Linked DNA regions of Homo sapiens: regions 1, 2, 3, 5 and 6 are each linked to region 4. The links are contacts of gene promoters, found by promoter capture Hi-C in blood cells and fetal thymus (Javierre and others, 2016). All regions are on one chromosome and are shown on one strand. Each heading gives the region's core, a stretch centred on a gene start or on the middle of the fragment in contact. The rest is flanking DNA. Distances are from core to core; before and after follow the strand shown.

Region 1 (3,270 bases), core at 268-2,767, 300 kb after region 4:
CAGAAGTAAATGCCAAGACTGAGGTGAGTACATGGCTCCCATATTCATGTCTTAGTGAACAAGGTAGTGTGGCTGGAACAGAATGATCAAGGAAGACAGCAATAGAAGAGGAGATCAGACAGGTCATGGGGTGACATCCCATAAAACCCTGTAAGTCATTGTAAAGACTTTGGCTCATACTCTAACTGAAAGGAAGGAAGACTGCAGTGGCGTAAAGGAAGGACGTGGTATTTTAGTACAGTGTAAATACTCATTATTATTATATATTATTATAAATACTCATTATTATTATATATTAAATAAATATTTTTTTATTTATTTTTCTTTTGAGATAGAGTCTTGCTCTGTCACCCAGGCTGGGAGTGCAGTGGCGTGATCTCCACTCACTGCAATCTCCGACTCCCGGGTTCAAACAATTCTGCCTCAGCCTCTAGAGTAGCTGGAACTACAGGCACATGCCACCACACCAGGCTAATTTTTGACCATGTTGGCCAGGCTAGTCTTGAACTCCTGACCTCAGGTGATCCACCTGCCTCAGCCTCCCAAAGTGCTGGGATAACAGGTGTGAGCCACCCTGCCTGGCCAGTGACTTGTTTCTAATGGAGTCTGGCAGCAGTGACAGTGTGTGACTTCCAAGAATAATAAGCAATAAAAGACATTATAAAAATCTAAAATCTAAAATCAAAAATATGTTTTGCTGTCTTTTGGATCACTCATTTTGAAGAAAGCTAGCTGCCATGCTGCAGGACACTCAAGAAGTCTTATAGAGAGGTCCACAGGTAAGGAACTGAGGCCTCCTGCCAACAGCCAGCATGAACTTGCCAGGCATATGAGTGAGCCATCTTGGAGGCAGATCCTCCAGCCACGGTCAAACCTTCAGATGATTACTGTCCTGGCCAACATTTGGACTGCAACCTAATGAGAGATCCTAAGCCAGGTTCATCTAGGTAAGTCACTTTCAAATTCCTGGCCAATATAAAATGATTACAACAATAAATGTTTATTTTATATTTTAAGCTGTGAAATTTTGGGATGATTTCTCATTCAGCAATAGATAACTAATAGGTTTGGGTACTAAAAGTGGAGTGCTGCTGTGACAAACAACTAAAATGTAAGAATGACTTTGAAATTCGGCAAAGGGCAGAAGCTGGAAAGACTTTGAGAAGAGTGTTAGTGAAAGTCTAAAATGCCTGGACGCGACAGTTAGTAGAACCACAGTGGCCTCTTTTTTTTTTTTTTTAAAGACAGGGTCTTGCTATGTTGCCCAGGCTGATTTCAAATTCCTGGCCTCAACTGATCCTAAGTCACTGAGATTATAGGCACAAGCCACCATACCCAGACATGATGGTCTTTGAAGAGGCGGCCAGTGAAGACTTAAGGAAAGTGAGGAAAATGTGTTTTAAAACTGGAAGAGGCCGGGCGCGGTGGCTCACGCCTCTAATCCCAGCACTTTGGGAGGCCGAAGCAGGCGGATCACGAGGTCAGGAGATTGAGACCATCCTGGCTAACACAGTGAAACCCCATCTCTACTAAAAATACAAAAAATTAGCCAGGTCTGGTGGTGGGCACCTGTAGTCCCAGTTACTCGGGAGGCTGAGGCAGGAGAATGGCATGAACCCGGGAGGCGGAGCTTGCAGTGAGCTGAGATCGTGCCACTGCACTCCAGCCTGGGCAACAGAGCAAGACTCCATCTCAAAAAAAAAAAAAAAAAAGAAAGAAAAAAAGAAACTGGAAGAAAAAGGATTCTCGTTATTCAGCAAGTTTAGCAACTATAGTTAGTGTGTAGTAACATGGAAAGTAAAAAATGTAATTAATGAATGGGAAATCTAGCTAAGGAGATTTTCAGGGAGAATGTTGAAGTTAACACCTGGTTTCTTCTTTGCTGCTTATAGTAAAGTGCGAGATAGATAGCTAAGAAAAAAAAATACCACTTAAAAAGAGCCAGGAGGCCGGGCATGGTGGCTCACGCTTGTAATCCAGGCACTTTGGGAGGCCAAGGCGAGCAGATCACAAGGTCAAGAGATCAAGACCATCCTAGCCAACATGGTAAAACCCCGTTTCTACTAAAAATACAAAAATTAGCTGGGCATGGTGGCGCTCACCTGTAGTCCCAACTCTCGGGAGGCTGAGGCGGGAGAATCACTTGAACCCAGGAGGCGGAGGTTGTAGTGAGCCGAGATCTCGCCATCGCACTCCAGCCTGGCGACAGAGCAAGACTCCGTCTCAAAAGAAAAACAAAAAGAGAGCCAGGAATTTTTGGATTTTAAAATTCTCAGCCTCTCCAGACAGTAAATGATGTTAAATTTTTTAAATAGCTTCTGGGCAAGTATCAAATTCAGGGCACTCTCAGGAAAACATGGTATAAAGACAAAGCCAAGATTGAGTGTAACATGCTTTGTTAATATCAGAAGGATCTAAGGTGGTACTCAGGAAACCATTTAGTCTAACAATATGGTTTTTGGGGTTTTTGGTTTTTGGTTTTGGTTTTGGTTTTTTTTGAGACAGAGTCTCACTCTGTCACCCAGGCTGGAGTGCAGTGGCATGATCTTAGCTCACTGCAACCTCCGCCTCCTGGGTCCAAACAATTCTCCTGCCTCGGCCTCCCGAGTAGCTGGGACTACAGGAACGTACCACCATGTCTGGCTAATTTTTGTATTTTTAGTACAGACAGGGTTTCACCATGTTGGCCAGGCTGTTTCAAACTCCTGACCTCATGTGATCTACCCACCTCGGCCTCCCAAAGTGCTGGGATTACAGGTATGAGCCACAGCACCCAGCCTAACGATATAGTTTTTAAGAATCTTAAGAGCCAGGCATGGTGGGTCACACCTGTAATCCCAGAACTCTAGAAGGTCGAGGTGGGAGGATTGCTTAAGGCCAGGAGTTCAAGACCAGCCTGGACAACATAGCATGGTCCCATCCTACAAAAAAATTTTTAAAATTAGTGGGCATGGGCCTGGTGCGGTGGCTCCCAGCACTTTGGGAGTCCAAGGCAGGCGGATCACAAGGTCAGGAGTTCATGACCAGCCTGGCCAATATAGTGAAACACTGTCTCTACTAAAAATACAAAAAAATTAGCCGGGCGTGGTGGCACATGCCTGTAATCCCAGCTACTCGGAAGGCTAAGGCAGGAGAATTGCTTGAACCCAGGTGGTGGAGGTTACAGTGAGCCAAGATCACGCCACTGCACTACAGCCTGGGCAAGAGAGTGAGACTCCGTCTCAAAAAAATAAAAATAAAAATAAAAATAAAATAGTGGGCATGAAAGTA
Region 2 (3,272 bases), core at 340-2,839, 370 kb after region 4:
AGCCTTGACCTTCCCAAGCTCAACTGATCCTCCCTCCTCAGCCTCCTGAGTAGCTGGGACCACAGGCATGCACCACCATGCCTGGCTAATTTTTGTATATTTTATAGAGATGGGGTTTCACTACGCTGCCCAGGCTGGTCTCGAAATCCCGAGCTCCAGTGATCCTACAGCCTCAGCCTCCCAAAGTGCTAGGATTATAGGTGTGCACCACAGCACCCAGCCTAATAGCTTTAATTTCATTCTATCAGTTAATTTACCAAGTTATTGGGGATGGGAGGGGACCACTCTCCCCACCCAGCTTGGTTAGAAAAATCCAGCAGAGAAGTCAAACAGTCTTACCGCCTCGGAGTTCCTGCGAATCTTCTCCACTTTTGAGTCTGGACGAATCCATGGAGAAAGCTTTCCCACAATTAGCGTATTCCAGTCTGCACTCCCCCACCCAAGAAAGACAAATACTGAATAAGGTTCAGCACTTTACTTGTTCAATTTTTAGTTTTGGGAATCAAGAGTAGAAATGAGAGACAAAGGTTTTTTCTACATAGACATGGGATAGCCTGATGCAGAATAGAGAAGCAAGGAGAAAACAAGTTATCTATATCCCAGGGACTAACAAATATATCCAAGTCAGAAAAGGAGGAGAATGAGGGCCCCGATAAAGCAGAAGTTGTTATTGCCTCTAATAATTAAGGGGCATATGGGATGGTCCCTACCCCTTCCTGACAGCAGTAGGTCTGATCGTGTCTGGGGACCGGGCCGATTCTTAGCAGGTTCCTGAATGAACTCCCTCTTGAAACGCGGATGGAAGACAGGCATGCAGAGGAAATCAAACCTACAACCGCGACAGACCCAGAATCATGTAAAGACAGCAGCAGTGCCAGAGAGCCAAGCAACTGGATTTAGGCTATCTTGATTTTGCACAGCCCTTTCAGCTGCCATCAGTTCAGCCTACTAGGCTGCTGAGTTCAGACCACCTTGGGGGATATCAACTCTGCTGTACTGTGCCTCAATTTCTCCCTAAAACACAGCCATGGGACATATGAGTAAGGAGAAAATGATGGATATCCACAAGTAGAATTTTTTTCTCCTCAGGTGTCAGTATGTTTCCAAGACCATCACATCCAGATTTGCCCCAGTTCTGCCCATGCCTCCCCCGTCAAAATTAGCCTCTTCTCTCCCTTGCCCCCTAACACCTCCTCCCACTCCCAGACAATAATCGCGACCTCCAGGGCCCTTTAGAGTTTACCCAACAACTCTCCCAACTTTGGGACTCAGTGACCACAGGCCTCCCACAAGTTATTTTCCTCACGTTACTGGGTCCGAGGCTCCTCCCCTCCAAAGAGTAATAGTCTCTCCCCTCCTCATCCTAGCCGACCCCCTCACCCCTGCTTCTCCGGGATGACTAGTCTGCCCTTCTCCGTCCCCGAGTTCGGACCCCGCATTCCGCTCGTGGAGGTCCGGCCCTCACCCCTGCTTGGCCACAGCCCCTAGTGTGTCAGCTATTTCGGGGACGCAATTCAGGTCCCTCCCGCTGGACACGCGGCTCCCACCAGCACCCCCGACCGCCATCGCCGCCATCTTTCTCCTCGCGCTGTCCACGCCGGGATTCCTTGATACTAGTAGCCAATCACAAAGTCAAACTAGTGCCCCAGAAGGCGGGACGAGTCGCCTTAACAACCAGAGCGTCTGCCACAGCTCCCGAACAGGAGGGATGGGGAGTGGCTTTTCCTGCCAATCCGCGGGCTGCACAGTGGCGTACGGCATGGATCCACCAATCTCAGGGTCTGGTTCCTGACGAACTTCAATCTCCCAGAATGCTTAGTCTATCTGAAGAACGCCGTTGAGAGACTACACCGCCCATGAAACCCTGCAGTATAACCTTGAAGTACCATCACGGAGAGAAACAGTGCCATCTCAGGGCCAGTGGCGCAATGGATAACGCGTCTGACTACGGATCAGAAGATTCCAGGTTCGACTCCTGGCTGGCTCGGTGGGGTTCCTCGCAGCTTCGCTGCGTGAGCATTTTGTAATTTTCCTTTCCTTTCGCAGCTTGATGCTTCTTTATTATCTTCACGCTTTCATTATCAGATCCTGAGTCGGTTGGGTTATGCAGCCATGTAATGTCAGCTTTTCCCGTAACTACCCTCAAAAGTGTTTTTCTTGTGTCATTATTTACGTCCATATGAACACTGAGAAAACTGGGTTAATGGCTGGTGCTATTAAAATGAGCTTTGTCACCTTACTATGTTACATATTAAAATAAACTGCTAACTCAGCTACTACTTCCTAGTGATTCTAGGAAGTAGTGTTTTGTGTTTCAAACACAAAAGGTGTAAATAAACGCCTAAACACACACACACACCTCAAGATAGAGAAAAGGAATTCATTAATTACAGTGGGCAGCAGTCATGAAATTGGCTGGCATGGAGGCCAGAGAGAATCTACATTTTCTCATGTCATTAGCTGCTAGAGATGGAAAGGAAGGAAGCAAGGAAAGACATAGGGAGGTAAATGGGAACTCCAGAAGGCAGGGGGCCCACTGGTGTTGAGGGCTCGGCAGCAAGGATGGAGAGGAGAACACGGTACAAGAGACCCCACGCAGGCGCCGCTGGCAGAACTTAGGGACCGACTGGCAAGGAGTCCTGAGAAAGCAAAGTAGGGGGTGATGCCTAGGATTCTGTCCATGCAGTGAGCAAGAAATGCGGAAAGAGGGTTTGGGAAATCAGGGTTTGGGTTTGGTCATGCTGAATTGAACGTCTAGGGGGCGCTGTGTAATAGAAAGTTGGATGGAGGTCGCTAGAAGAAAAGAACTGAGGCCATGCGACTGAGATCACCATAGCTCGTTGGGGACAGAGCCATAGGAAATACGAAAAGGGTGTGGGGTAGGATAAGTTCTGGGGAACCCTGGGTGCAATGCAAGTGCCCCAAAAGAATGAAAGCCGGAAAACCGGCCGGGCGCGGTGGCTCACGCCTGTAATCCCAGCACTTTGGAAAGCGGAGGCGGGTGGATCTCCTGAGGTCAGGAGTTCGAGACCAGCCTGGCCAACATGAAAACTCCCCGTCTCTCCTAAACGTGGTAGCAGGCGCCTGTAATCCCAGCTACTCGGCCAGCTACTCGGGAGGCTGAAGCAGGAGAACTGCTTGAACCCGGCAGGCGGAGGTTGCAGTGAGCCAAGATCACGCCACTGCACTCCAGCCTGGGCAACAAGAGCAAAATAATGTCGGGGCAGGGGGAGGAGGAAAGGAAAGTCGGAAAAACCAAAGCATTTAAAAAA
Region 3 (3,170 bases), core at 257-2,756, 330 kb after region 4:
TCCTGAGAATCCCTTCTTGTCACTTCCCCTCACCTCTCTCCTAGGCCTCCTTCTCCCTCTCCTTCGCACCTCCACAGACCCACCATATGAGCTCAGCCATGTTCTCTCGGTTGCAAGATTCACTAGTACCAATCCCTTGCCACCGCACGCCCAGGCCCTCCCTAGACCCACCCTCGCCCCGGGTCCCGTACAGCCCAGCGGGCGCCTGAGCCGGTGCCTTCCTGCAGAGGGCCGCCACCTGGCCGGGACGCTGAGCTGCAAGCACATCGAGACGTCGGCCGCACTGCACCACAACACGAGGGAGCTCTTCGAGGGCGCGGTGCGCCAGATCCGGCTGCGGCGGGGCCGAAACCACGCCGGAGGCCAGAGGCCCGATCCGGGCAGCCCCGAGGGCCCTGCGCCACCTGCACGCCGCGAGAGCCTCACCAAGAAAGCCAAGAGGTTCCTCGCCAACCTGGTGCCGCGCAACGCCAAGTTCTTCAAGCAGCGCTCCAGGTCGTGTCACGACCTCTCGGTGCTCTGAGCCGCGGTCGCCATGGCCACTGCGGTCGCCATGGTCACCGCGCCCTCCGCTCGCCCCCCCTCGCCCCGCCCCGCCCCCGTCCGGCTTCCTTGGTGGAGGCCGTCTAGGAAACCAAAAACTCCCAGGATGCCCCGGTGTGACCGCCGGGGGCGGCCCGGGGCCGCTCGGCGGCACCTCCACACCCGCCCCAACGCGTTCTCTGGAGCTTTGGGCCTCAGGGCGCCTAGAAGGCGAGGACGCAGACCTGAAGGCGGCCGGTGAGCGGGGCGGGTTCTGCTGGGTCGGGAAGAAAAATAATTCTGCAAGGTATTTTGTTTTTTATTAATTCGCGCTTGGCCACCTCATCTGTAAAGAGATTCTAAAAGCAAGATCTGGAAAAGTGCTTCGTAGACTCCTTGACGGAGTTTGCCTCCTTTGTACGCTGCGTGAACATGCCTCACCTTTAAGAGAGTCTTAAAGGTAAAGACACGAAAACACTTCCTCCAGGGACCTTCCCGAAAACGTTCTGGCTCTCATCTGGTGCGGCATGTGTCCACTTTGCCTTTAAGGAGTTCTTAAAGGCAAGGGCCTGGAAGTGCTGTTCCTGAGATGGATTCTCTTGACTTACCAGTCCACCACGGCACTTCCCCTTTAAGGTTATTAAAGGTAAGGGGTGGACAGACTTTCTGCATTCAGATAATGAGCAGTGGCAACCCCTTTTGGCCAGGGCCAGGGGGGCACCAGCAAGGGGCCACCCTTTCCCTTTTCAATAAATAATTTTTGTACTGCCTCTGTTCACTTTTGACTCTGTTCTTGGAGTCTTTGGGGAAGGAATGGGTGTTGATGGAAACTGCTGTTACCCACCAGAAAACTCAGGCCCAGAGGAGCAAGGAACCTAACTCTCTAAGGAGGCTCTGGAACTGACTTGGCCTGGGGTAGTCCATGTCATAGGGCCACAGGCCCTTACAGATAATCAGGTCCACTTCTTGCGTTTGCCGATGAGAAAACAGGCTTGGAGAGGAACAGGGACCTCCTAGAAGTCATTTGTAAATTAGTGACACAGTGGGACCAAATCTCTAGATTCTGAGCCTCATCTCCTTACCCCCACTCTATCCTGCAGGGAACAGGCTAGAGGCTACACTTAGCTCCCAGCGGTACTCAGCTTTGACTTGGGCTGGTTCAAAGTGGGGCCCATATCCACCAGGGAAGCCCATCAGCTGTGGCGTGATGGGGGTCTGTCTGTGCCTCCTCTGGCAGGGCTCCACAGCCCCAGCTGTCACCTGCAAAGCCCGTGTGAGTACTGAAACTGTCACTGCCTCCCCTGGGGACGCCCACGCCTGCTGCTGCCTGAGCCATGAGTTTGAACAAAGGGAGCAGAGGCAGCAGCTCCCCTCACCACCCCTAGACATACAATACAGCTACCTGAGCACCTGAGGGCCAGCCTCCATTCTACCCCACACAGCCTCCCAGAACTTGATGGAAAGAGGGTTGCAATGCTTCCTGAGTCCTTGTAGCTGGGGAGGAGCCAAGGGGACCATCCCAGCATGGGTACTTATAATAAGATGAATAATGGCCCTATCCTTAGGACTTTATACACTTTATCTGTTAATTCCTTAAAGACTATATAAGGTCCAGCCTGGGAAACATAGTGAGAGCCAGTTTCTACAAAAAAAAATATAAAAATTGGCCAGGCATGTGGCTCACACCTGTAATCCCAGCACTTTGGGAGGCTGAGGCAGGAGGATCATTTCAGTTCAGAAGTTTGAAACCAGCCTGGGCAACATGGCAAAACCCTGTCTTTACAAAAAATTAGCTGGGTGTGGTGTCATTCAGATAGTCCCAGCTACTTGAGAGGCTGAGCTGGGAGGAACCCTTGAGCCAGGAAGTTAAGGCTGCAGTGAGCTGTGATTGTACCACTGCACTGCAGCACGGGCAACAGAGCAAGACCCTGTCAAAAAAAAAAAAAAAAAAAAAAAAAAAAAAAGCAGTGCACCTGTAGTCCTAGCTACTCAGGAAGTGGGAGGATTACTTGAGCCCAGGAGTTCAAGGCTGAAGTGAGCTGCAATCACTGCCTTCCAGCCTGGGTGATAGAACGAGAACTTGTCTCTTTAAAAAAAAAAAAAAAAGGGCCGGGCGCCATGGCTCACACCTGTAATCCCAGCACTTTGGGAGGCCAAGGTGGGTGGATCACAAGGTCAGGAGTTCGAGACCAAGCTGGCCAATATGGTGAAACCCCATCTCTACTAAAAAGTGCAAAAATTAGCTGGGCGTGGTGGCAGGCGCCTGTAATCCCAGCTACTAGGGAGGCTGAGGCAGGAAAATAGCTTGAACCCAGAAGGCAGAGGTTGCAGTGAGCTGAGAACGTGCCACTGCACTCCAGCCTGGGCGACAGAGTGAGACTCCATCTCAAAAAACAAACAAGCAAAAAAAAAAAACCTATATAAGGTGTTACTACCTGTTTAACAGTAGAAGAAACAGAGTGTAAGTAACTTGCCTGAGGTTACCCGGTAAGCAGTAGAGTTGGGATTTCATGTCTGCTTGATACTTTTTTTTTTTTTTTGAGATGGAGTCTTGCTCTTGTCACGCAGGCTGGAGTGCAATGGTGCGATCTCCACTCACTGCAACCTCCACCCCCCGGGTTCAAGTGATTCTTCTGCCTCAGCCTCCC
Region 4 (3,010 bases), core at 355-2,854:
AGAGCAACCCCTCTGCTGCTACCCTCACTGGGGGCAGCCATCTGAGTCTTAAGGAGTTGCTTATTTTTTAGGTCCAAACATAAAATTCAACTCCCCTGGGATCACGTATACAGACAGGCCTATAGCACCTTATTATCAGGTACCATCCTAGTGTGGAAGTCCCCTGGCCTGTGTGCTCTGTGGGATGGGAATGTCCCTTGTCATCAATGTGTCCCCAGGAACTAGAACAGTGCCTGGCACACAACAGATGCCGTTAAATGAATAAGTGAATGACTCCTGCAGTTAGGCTCTGGGTGGGGGGAGCTGAGTGTGAGGAGTGGGGAGTACAGGAGAAAGGAAAGTGGGGATTAGTAGAGGAAGTGGTCAGGTGAGTCAATGCTTCACAGTTTTGCCAAGAGCTAAAGTAACTTGTCAAGAACTTCAGAACAAGGAAAGCCTGAGTGGTGGCCCCTTGCTCAGGGCAGCCCCCAGGCAGGCACACATCTATCCAACAAAGCCTGGAGGACAGGGACTGTGGTAAATCACGCAGGGTACCTGGGAGTCTGACCTCACTGTGTGACCACACTGAGGTCCAGAGCCAACAGTCACTTTATGTGGGTTCGCCTCAGTTTCTCCATGAGTCCTACTCTAAAACCCATCTACCTCCGTGAGCCATGTGTGGGAAGACGAGCTTCTGACTGGGATGAGTCTGGGGGAGCAAGCACATGGAGACCCAGTGCTGTCATTCTGGCTGCCGGAAGGCTGCAGGACCACCAGCGCCCTGCGTCTGTGTCAAGGCCACCTGGGCAACGCGGCGAGGGGTGGGGAGTGCAGGCCTCCTTTCACACAGAGACACACAGGCCTGAGGCCTCTCTGGGTAGCACACATAGAGCTATATTTTGCAATTAATAAACAGGTCAGACATTGAGTCAGTAGCCACAAGTAGAACAGGAAGTGGAAAAAGTCTCCCACTTCCCTCCAGGTGTTTGGGGGCTGGGGCGGTCCCCTCCCATTTCCATGACGTCATGGTTACCAAGAGGGGCAAGTAGGGCACCCTTTGAAGCTCTCCCGCAGAAGCCACATCCTCTGGAAAGAAGAGTTTAAAATACTGAGTTAGAGATAGCATCGCCCCAGGCCACGTGCCGAGGGGAGCAGGCTGGGCCGTTACACCACCCCCCAACCGCAGGTGCAGCAAGGCCAACATGCCAGGCTGGGAGGGGCTGCCGGCCCCTCGGTGACTTGCACCGGGCCCGCAAGCAGGCTGGGGAGGTGCTGCTGGCCCCACCGCTGAGCCGCCTCCCTCACCGCACCTCTGCTGCCCCTCCAAACCAGCCAAGATCAGACCTTGATCTCACCTGATTAAGCGCTTGCTTAGTACAGGGCAGACCCTCGAGACTTATGCTCAGGCCAGTGTCTCCTGGGAGGGAAGGAGGTGGGGAGGCCGTATTTGCCCCCACACAGAGCTAGGGCTGATTCTCTGAGGGACCCCCCCCCAATAGCACCTCCCCCCTTACCCTGATGCTTGTCCATTAGGTGATGGCCCTAATGGACGCCTTGATGGACACGTCCGGGACCCAGGGACCCGGAGACCAGGAATCTGCTGGTCTCAGGGAGCCGCAGAACCTGAAACCCAAAAATACCAGGCTTGATCGCCTGCTCTTCGGTAGTGTCGCCATCCACCCGCATGGGGGCAGCAGCGCTCCACCAAAAAGACCTCTTCTCCCTTTGTCTGTTAATTCTGGAGATAGAAAGCCCCCAAAGTTTAGGAAAAGCTCTTTTCCGAGGAAAATAAAAGGGCAGGTGACTTTTATCCCACAAGTCCCTGCCCTGTGCCCGTCACTGCGCTGGGCGCAAGGCCTGTGTCATCCTGTCACATCCCCCCCCAAAGGAGAGGAGGGCCTGGGGCCTGGGCCGGCAGCAGGGGGCGCTGTTCGTCCGGGATCGTCAGACCCGCTCCACCCGGAGCCCTGGAGGAAGTGCCCAGGGAGGGCTGGGGGCCCGGAGGAGGCCTTGGGTTCGGAATTAGGCTGGCTGGAGTCCGGGATCCACCACATCATACACTCGTGCCTTTGGCAGGTCACTAACCGCCCACCGCCTCAGTTTCCCGGTGGGACGAACTCTCTCTCACAGGTAGTTTAAGAACCAGGCTTTCTTTGGCATTGTATACCTGCCATGTGCCAGGCTGTGTCGTGCTCTGGGGATTCAGTCTCTGTGCAAACTATGACTCCATACAGATGAAGTCCAAGAACAGGCAAAACGCATCACAGGTGATAGAAATTAGGGCACTGTTTGCCTCTGGGGTAGAAGGATGGATTGAAAAGGGGCACGAGGAAACCTTCAGGGGTGGTGGAAATGTTCCATATCTTTATCTTGGGTGATGGCTATATATATATCAAATGCATCATTAGTGTATTTTCATGTAATTATGCCTCAAGAAAGTACTGCTCCCATTAAATACACACACACACACACACACACACACACACAGAGTTTCTGTCTTCAAGGAGTTAACAGTCCAGTGAGTAGTGGGTATGAAAGAGATGTGTTAATGGCTGCAATTGCAAGACAGAGGCTTTTGTTACTATATTCTCCTCAGGCAGGAGTCCTCAGGCAGGAGGCAGGAGAACCAGTTGTTTGTCCCTAAGCGTCACTGCCCCTCACTAGCCTTCTCTCCTGGGGCCTTTAATTTTTCTGAGTCCCCATGTGTTATTATTCACATAGAGATAAAAATACCTGCCCACCTATTCTCAGTGTTGTTGAAGGGATTGAAAGCAGTAATGGGTGTGGAATGCTTAGTAAACTGAAATCCCAGTGCAAATATGAAGTGGGAATGCATCAGAATGCCCAGGAAGACGAACCATGACCCGAACAAGATGGGCTGGGCCAGGTCAGATGGCACTGCCATACTGAGAAAAAAGTGGGCTGGCTGCGGCTTCACACAGCCCGGGAGAGCTCAGAACTCCCCAGGCCCTGCCGGTGCGCTGGTGTTTCTCATAGTATGTGGCCACCTCTCCAGTCACTTCGGCCCTAG
Region 5 (3,220 bases), core at 166-2,665, 320 kb before region 4:
TGCCCCAGTCACTAGGAGGGCTTGGAAATCAGACAGCAAATGACACCTTAAAAAATATGTATAAGGCCATTCTTGCACTGTTATAAAGAAATACCTGAGACTGTGTAATTTATAAAGAAAAGAGGTTTAATTGGCTCATGGTTCTGCAGGTTTTACAGGAAGCATGGTGCTGGCATCTGGTTGGCTTCTCAGAAGGCCCCAGGAAGCTTATAATCATGGTGGAAGGCAAAGGGGGAGCAGGCATGTCACATGGCCAGAGCAGGAGCAAATGAGAGAGAGTGAGGGGGAAGATGCAACACACTTTATTTAAACCAGATCTTGTGAGAACTCACTCACTAAAGCAAAGACAGCACCAAGCCATAAGGGATCCCACCTCCATGATACAAACACCTCCCCCCAGGCCCCACCTCTAGCACTGAGGAATACAATTCAACATGATTTGGATGGGGACAAATATCCAAACTATATCATTCCACTCTTGATCCCTCCTAAGTCTCATCTCCTTCTCACATTGCAAAACACAATCATACCTTCCCAATAGTCCTCCAAAGTTTTAACAAATTCCAGAATTAACTCAAAAGTCCCAAGTCTCATCTGAGACAAGTCAAGCTTTTCCACCAATGAGTCTGTAAAGTCAAAAACAAGTTATTTACTCCCAAGATATAATGTGAGTATACACATTGGGTCAACATTCCCATTTCGAAAGGGAGAAATTGGCCAAAAGAAGGGGCCACAGGTCTCATACAAGTTCAAAACCCAGCAAGGCAGCCATTAAATCTTAAAGCTCCAAGATAATCTCCTTAGACTCCATGTCTCACATCCAGGACACACTGGTTCAAGAGGTGGGCTCCCAAGGCGTTGGGCAACTCCACCTCTGTGGCTTTGCAGGGTGCCACCCCCACAGCTTCTCTCATAGGTTGTTGAGTGTCTGGCTTTTCCAGACACAGGGTGCAAGCTGCCAGTGGATGTACTATTCTGGGATCTGGAAGATGGTGACCCCTTTCCCACAGCTCTACTAGGCAGTGCTTCAGTGAGGATTCTGTGTGGGGCCTCCAACTCCTATTTCCCCTCCACACTGCCCTAGTAGAGGTTATTTGTGGGGGCTCTCCCCATGCAGCAGTCTTCTGCCTTGGCACCCAGGCTTTCTCATACATCCTTTGAATCTAGGTGGAGGCTGCCAAGCCTCTTTCACTCTTACATTGTGTGTGCCTGCAGGCTTAACACCACATGGAAGCTGCCCAGAGTTATGGCTTGCACCCTCCAAAGTGGCAGCCTGAGATGTACCTGGGCCCCTTTGGGTCATAGCCAGAGTGGCCAGGATGTGGGGAGCAGTGTCTTGAGGCTGTGCAGGGCAGCAGAGTCCTGGACCTGGCCCCTGAAACCATTCTCTCCTCCTAGGCCTCAAGGCCTGTGATGGGAGGGGCTGCTGCAAACATCTCTGAAATGCCTTTGAAGCCTTTTCCCCATTGTCTTGGCTATCTGGCTGTCTTTTAGTTATGCAAATATCTCTGGCAAGCAGTTGCTTTGAGGCTTGCTTGAATTCCTTTCCTGAAAAATCTTTTTCTTTCTCTCCCACATGGCTAGGCTACAAATTTTCCAAACTTTTACACTCTGCTTTTTAAAATACAAGTTCTAGCTTTAAGCCATTTCTTTGCTACTGCATCTGAGCATAGGTTATTAGAAGCAGCCAGGTCACCTCTTGAATGCTTCACTGCTTAGAAATTGCTTCCACCAGATATACTAAATTATCACTCTGAAGTTCAAACTTCCACAAATCCCTAGGGCAGGGGCACAATGCAGCCAAGTTTGTTGCTAAGGAATAGCATGGGTGACATTCGCTCCAATTGCCAATAAGTTCCTCATTTCCATCTGAAATTTCATCAGCCTGGCCTTCATTGCCCATATCACTATCAGCATTTTGGTCACAATCATTTAACCAGTCTCTAAGAGGTTCCAAATTTTCGCTCATCTTCCTGTCTTCTGAGCCCTCCAAATTTCTCAGACCTCTGCCTGTTACCTGGTTCCAAAGCTGCTTCCACATTTTCAGGTATCTTTATAGTAATGCCCCACTTCTCAGTACCAATTTGCTTTATTAGGCCTTTCATGCACCACTATAAAGAAATACCTGAAACTTGGTAATTTATTTAAAAAAAAGGTTTAATTGGCTTATGGCTCTTCAGGCTTTACAGGAAGCATGGTGCTGGCATCTGGGGAGGCCTAAGGAAGCTTTCAATCATGACAGAAGGCAAAAGGGGAGCAGGCATGTCACATGGCCAGAACAGACACAAGACAGAGAGAGTGAGGGGGAGGAGCCACACACTTTTAAATGACTAGATCTTGTGAGAACTCACTCACTATTGCAAAGACAGCACCAAGTCATGAGGGATCTGCCCTCATGATCCACATATTTCCCCCCAGGCCCCACCTCCACCATTGGGGATTATAATTCAACATAAGATGTGGGTTGGGACAAATATGCAAATAATATCACAATAATTTCTTTTATAAAAAAGTGAAAAATACTTTTATTAGAGAATAATTTTCAAAGATCTGTTTAAAACTAACTTTTAAAAACAATGAACTATGGGAAACATTCACTAATGCATAAAATAAAATATGTAATCTTTTTCATTTTCAGTTTGTGCAAAGTTATTTTCACACCCTGCTGGTAGCAACACAATATATTGGTACAATCTTTTACACAGTGAATTACTTGGAAAGGGATTTTGAGATTCATTAAACAGTTCATGCCTTTGAACTGTTTGAAACTGAATGAACACCTTTGATCCATTTCTCAGAATTTATATTAAAGATTGATTTTAAGTAGAAAAAACCCTCTAGGCAAGAAAATAGTAAAAATTTCTCAACCAGTTAGAGGAATTTGGATGGCAACTTGACTGAATACTTTACAACTATTTAATGAGTTAATAATACTAAAAACATAGTAATGCTCTTGACATACAGTTAGAGAAAACATAGAGTTCCTATAATAACCATATGCTCACACTAATATCGAATGAATGAAGCACATAGATAAAAACTGGAAGTTTTGATGCAAAACTGAAAGTATGAAATTATTTAGTGTATGTACTTGCAATATTTTAATTTTTATTTTTTTCATGGAATAACTGTGAACTTGTGCCTACAATAAATAACATTTTAAAAATTCTCTTGACTCCAAATGTTGTAGCTAGTGGAAAAACAAACAAACAAGGATCTC
Region 6 (2,842 bases), core at 83-2,582, 350 kb after region 4:
GAAAGCGGTGGGGGGGAAAGGAAGGGAGAAGGAGGGAGGGATGGGAGGAGAGGGCAGAGGGAGGGAAAAGCAAGCAAGCAAGCAAGCAAATTGCTGTTAAGTGGGCCAGGTGCAGTGGCTCACTCCTGTAATCCCAGCACTTTGGGAGGCCAAGGCAGATCGCTTGAGCCTGGGAGCTCGAGACCAGCCCAGGCAACATAGCAAGACCCTGTCTCTATAAAAAATATATTAAAAAAGAAACTGGGACGGGCGCAGTGGCTCACGCCTGTAATCCCATTACTTTGGAAGGCCAAGGTGGGTGGATCATAAGGTCAGGAGATCAAGACCATCCTGGCCAACATGGTGAAACCCCGTCTCTACTAAAAATACAAAAATTAGCTGGGCATGGTGGTGCTTGCCTATAATCCTAGCTACTTGGGACGCTGAGGCATGAGAATGGCTTGAACCCAGGAGGCGGAGGTTGCAGTGAGCCAAGATTGTGCCACTGCACTCCAGCCTGGCAACAGAGCGAGACTCTGTCTCAAAAGAAAAAAAAAAGAAATTGGTGCTAGGTCTGAGGTACAGTGACTTTCTACTGTGTCACTTCGAGTTTTGAGCAAAGCACAGATTACCAACACCACATTATGTGCCCACTCCGGTTTCTGAGGTTGTCTCTAAAAGTATGGCTCTTAACCATAGTCTCCAGCAAAGCTTACTAAGACTATGCCTTTTATGATTAGTTATTCTACATAATAAATAAGCAGGGAAAGAGGATTCATAAAATGTTGAAAGTTGAAAGTGATGATCGACAACTACTCTTTCTCATTAACCCAATTCCAGGAGTGAGGTGGAAAATATTACCTCTTCTTTTTTATAGGGAGCTTCCAGCATGGCCTCAATCACTATGTCAAAGTCATCAGATGCCATCCTGTCAGATCTGGGGAGAGGATATTAATATGTAAGAATCTGTTTTATATTTTTCCTCCCTTTCCAGCACCACACATTTCTTTCCCACTCCAAGAAAGAGACTTCAGGATATACAGATTTCAGTTCTGTTTCTTGAACTGCAAAGAAACCTTACCAGCTGTCACTTACTCTAGGTTTATTTTTACACCCTATAGATCTGAACTAGTTCGACTTTGTGGCTTGGAACAGTCAAGGATAGTCCGGGCGCAGTGGCTCACACCTGTAATCCTAGCACTCTGGGAGGGCAAGGCAGGCAGATCACCTGAGGTCAGGAGTTTGAGACCAGCCTGGCCAACATGGCGAAACCCCCTCTACCAAAAATATAAAAATTAGCTGGGTGTGGTGGCACACACCTGTAATCCCAGCTACTCAGGAGGCTGAGGCAGGAGAATCACTTGAACCCAAAAGGTGGAGGTTGCAGTGAGCCAAGATCACGCCACTGTACTCCAGCCTGGGCAGCAATGTGTGACCCTGTCTCAAAAACAAAACAAACAAACAAAAAACACAAAAAACAATACATAAAAAAATAGTCAAGGATATAGAAGAAAACTGAGTATCTAGGAAGAAACAAAATACAACACTGATCCTGTTCTATGAAGAGAAAATGATGGTGGCCAAACTACTGTTCACTATAAAATAGACATTAGGTCTCCACTCTACTGTTCAAAATTCTGAATAAATACCTGGTTTAAACTCAAATAATAAAAACAGGCCTGGCTGCTACAGATGTGAGAAAAATATAAAACGAAAAAATAATAAACAAATATAGGCACATTATGTCCAATAAAAAGATAAAGAGGCACGACTAAAAATCAGAAGCAAGTCAAAGCAACACCAAAATGCAGATTTGCCCTAACGTCTTCCTCTCCGCATACCCTGAACACCAATAATTAGGGCCTTATCCCTGAGCATTTTCTAACCAATACCAACTACAGTTTAGGTAACTCAGAAATATGATGATTAAGACAGGCTCGACTAATCCCATCTTGAAACCTTTCTCTCTGGCAGGCAAGGTAAAACGTGCCTCCCCAAGCTTTCACATCTAGAAACTGCCTCTCCCCAGGCTGTCTACCACCAGTTTGTCAAATAAGAAAAACAGAAAATACCAAAGAAAACCAATAGGATAAATTATTCAAATGTTATTGGTCTGGAATTATCAACCCACACATGGATGAATCTCAAAATAATTACACGGAGTGACAGAAACCAGCCCCCCCCACAAAAAGTACACAATGAACAATTCCATTTACATAAAATTCTAAAAAATGCAAACTAGGCCAGGCGCGGTGGCTCATGCCTGTAATCCCAGCACTTTGGGAGGCCGAGGCGGGCAGATCACGAGGTCAACGACGAGGTCAACATATCGAGACCATCTAGGCCAACATGGTGAAACCCCGTCTCTACTAAAAATACAAAAATTAGCTGGACGTGGTGGCACGCGCCTGTAGGCCCAGCTACTCGGGAGGCTGAGGCAGGAGTATCACTTGAACCCAGGAGGCGGAGGTTGCAGTTAGCCAAGATTGTGCCACTGCACTCCAACCTGGAGACAGAGTGAGATTCAGTCTCAAAAAAAAAAAAAAAAAAAAAAAAAAAGCAAACTAATCACTATATCAAAGAAAGCAGAAAGCACATCAATGGTTGCCTAGGGATAGAAGTAAGGGGAAGGGCTGGGAGAAAAAGATTTTAAAAGGGCACAAGAAGGCCGGGCGCGGTGGCTCATGCTTGTAATCCCAGCACTTTGGGAGGCCGAGGCGGGCGGATCACGAGGTCAGGAGATCGAGACCATCCTGGCTAACACAGTGAAACCCTGTCTCTACTAAAAATACAAAATATTAGCCGGGCGTGGTGGCGGGTGCTTGTAGTCCCAGCTACTCGGGAGGCTGAGGCAGGAGAATGG

Evidence for each region. The method cuts DNA at HindIII sites, captures the fragments that hold promoters and counts their contacts. A CHiCAGO score of 5 or more calls a contact.
Region 1: a contact is called between a fragment that was not itself captured here and the fragment with the promoter of LINC02332 in region 4, in 17 of 17 cell types (M0 macrophages, M2 macrophages, megakaryocytes and 14 more). The highest score is 20.9, in M0 macrophages.
Region 2: the fragment with the promoter of PRMT5 here is called in contact with the fragment with the promoter of LINC02332 in region 4 in 1 of 17 cell types (total B cells); the score reaches 5.5 in total B cells.
Region 3: a contact is called between a fragment that was not itself captured here and the fragment with the promoter of LINC02332 in region 4, in 6 of 17 cell types (total B cells, naive B cells, neutrophils and 3 more). The highest score is 8.3, in total B cells.
Region 5: a fragment that was not itself captured here is called in contact with the fragment with the promoter of LINC02332 in region 4 in 1 of 17 cell types (total B cells); the score reaches 5.3 in total B cells.
Region 6: a contact is called between a fragment that was not itself captured here and the fragment with the promoter of LINC02332 in region 4, in 12 of 17 cell types (total B cells, naive B cells, erythroblasts and 9 more). The highest score is 16.2, in total B cells.

What each region holds. Positions count from the first base shown.
Region 1 is chr14:22,856,342-22,859,611 of GRCh38, forward strand. No RefSeq gene overlaps it. Among named protein-coding and RNA genes, the nearest start is that of LRP10, 14 kb to the right of the region's middle. The HindIII fragment of the contact is 4,412 bases long and covers 1-3,270 here.
Region 2 is chr14:22,927,787-22,931,058 of GRCh38, forward strand. It overlaps PRMT5 (protein arginine methyltransferase 5), which reads right to left and starts at 1,590. Exons shown (of 17, transcript NM_006109.5): 1 at 1,466-1,590; 2 at 711-829; 3 at 340-425. The coding sequence starts at 1,575. PRMT5-DT (PRMT5 divergent transcript) reads left to right here and starts at 1,823. Exons shown (of 3, transcript NR_110002.1): 1 at 1,823-1,966. It overlaps TRR-ACG1-3 (tRNA-Arg (anticodon ACG) 1-3), which reads left to right and starts at 1,915; the gene lies at 1,915-1,987. RefSeq lists an enhancer at 1,434-1,543 and a silencer at 1,954-2,043. The HindIII fragment of the contact is 19,261 bases long and covers 398-3,272 here.
Region 3 is chr14:22,886,387-22,889,556 of GRCh38, forward strand. It overlaps REM2 (RRAD and GEM like GTPase 2), which reads left to right. Exons shown (of 5, transcript NM_173527.3): 5 at 228-1,292. The coding sequence ends at 523. Among named protein-coding and RNA genes, the nearest start is that of REM2, 4.8 kb to the left of the region's middle. RefSeq lists silencers at 82-151, 392-721 and an enhancer at 1,952-2,051. The HindIII fragment of the contact is 5,549 bases long and covers 1-3,170 here.
Region 4 is chr14:22,555,458-22,558,467 of GRCh38, forward strand. LINC02332 (long intergenic non-protein coding RNA 2332) reads right to left here and starts at 1,605. Exons shown (of 3, transcript NR_146543.1): 1 at 1,494-1,605; 2 at 1,335-1,396; 3 at 854-1,065. LOC105370399 (a long non-coding RNA gene) reads left to right here and starts at 1,109. Exons shown (of 2, transcript XR_007064066.1): 1 at 1,109-2,109. RefSeq lists enhancers at 1-70, 651-750, 801-1,140, 2,001-2,210 and a silencer at 1,251-1,300. The HindIII fragment of the contact is 9,123 bases long and covers 1-3,010 here.
Region 5 is chr14:22,231,268-22,234,487 of GRCh38, forward strand. It overlaps TRA. Among named protein-coding and RNA genes, the nearest start is that of TRD-AS1, 250 kb to the right of the region's middle. The HindIII fragment of the contact is 1,617 bases long and covers 608-2,224 here.
Region 6 is chr14:22,910,488-22,913,329 of GRCh38, forward strand. It overlaps RBM23 (RNA binding motif protein 23), which reads right to left. Exons shown (of 14, transcript NM_001077351.2): 2 at 841-916. The coding sequence starts at 906. Among named protein-coding and RNA genes, the nearest start is that of RBM23, 7.2 kb to the right of the region's middle. The HindIII fragment of the contact is 1,288 bases long and covers 689-1,976 here.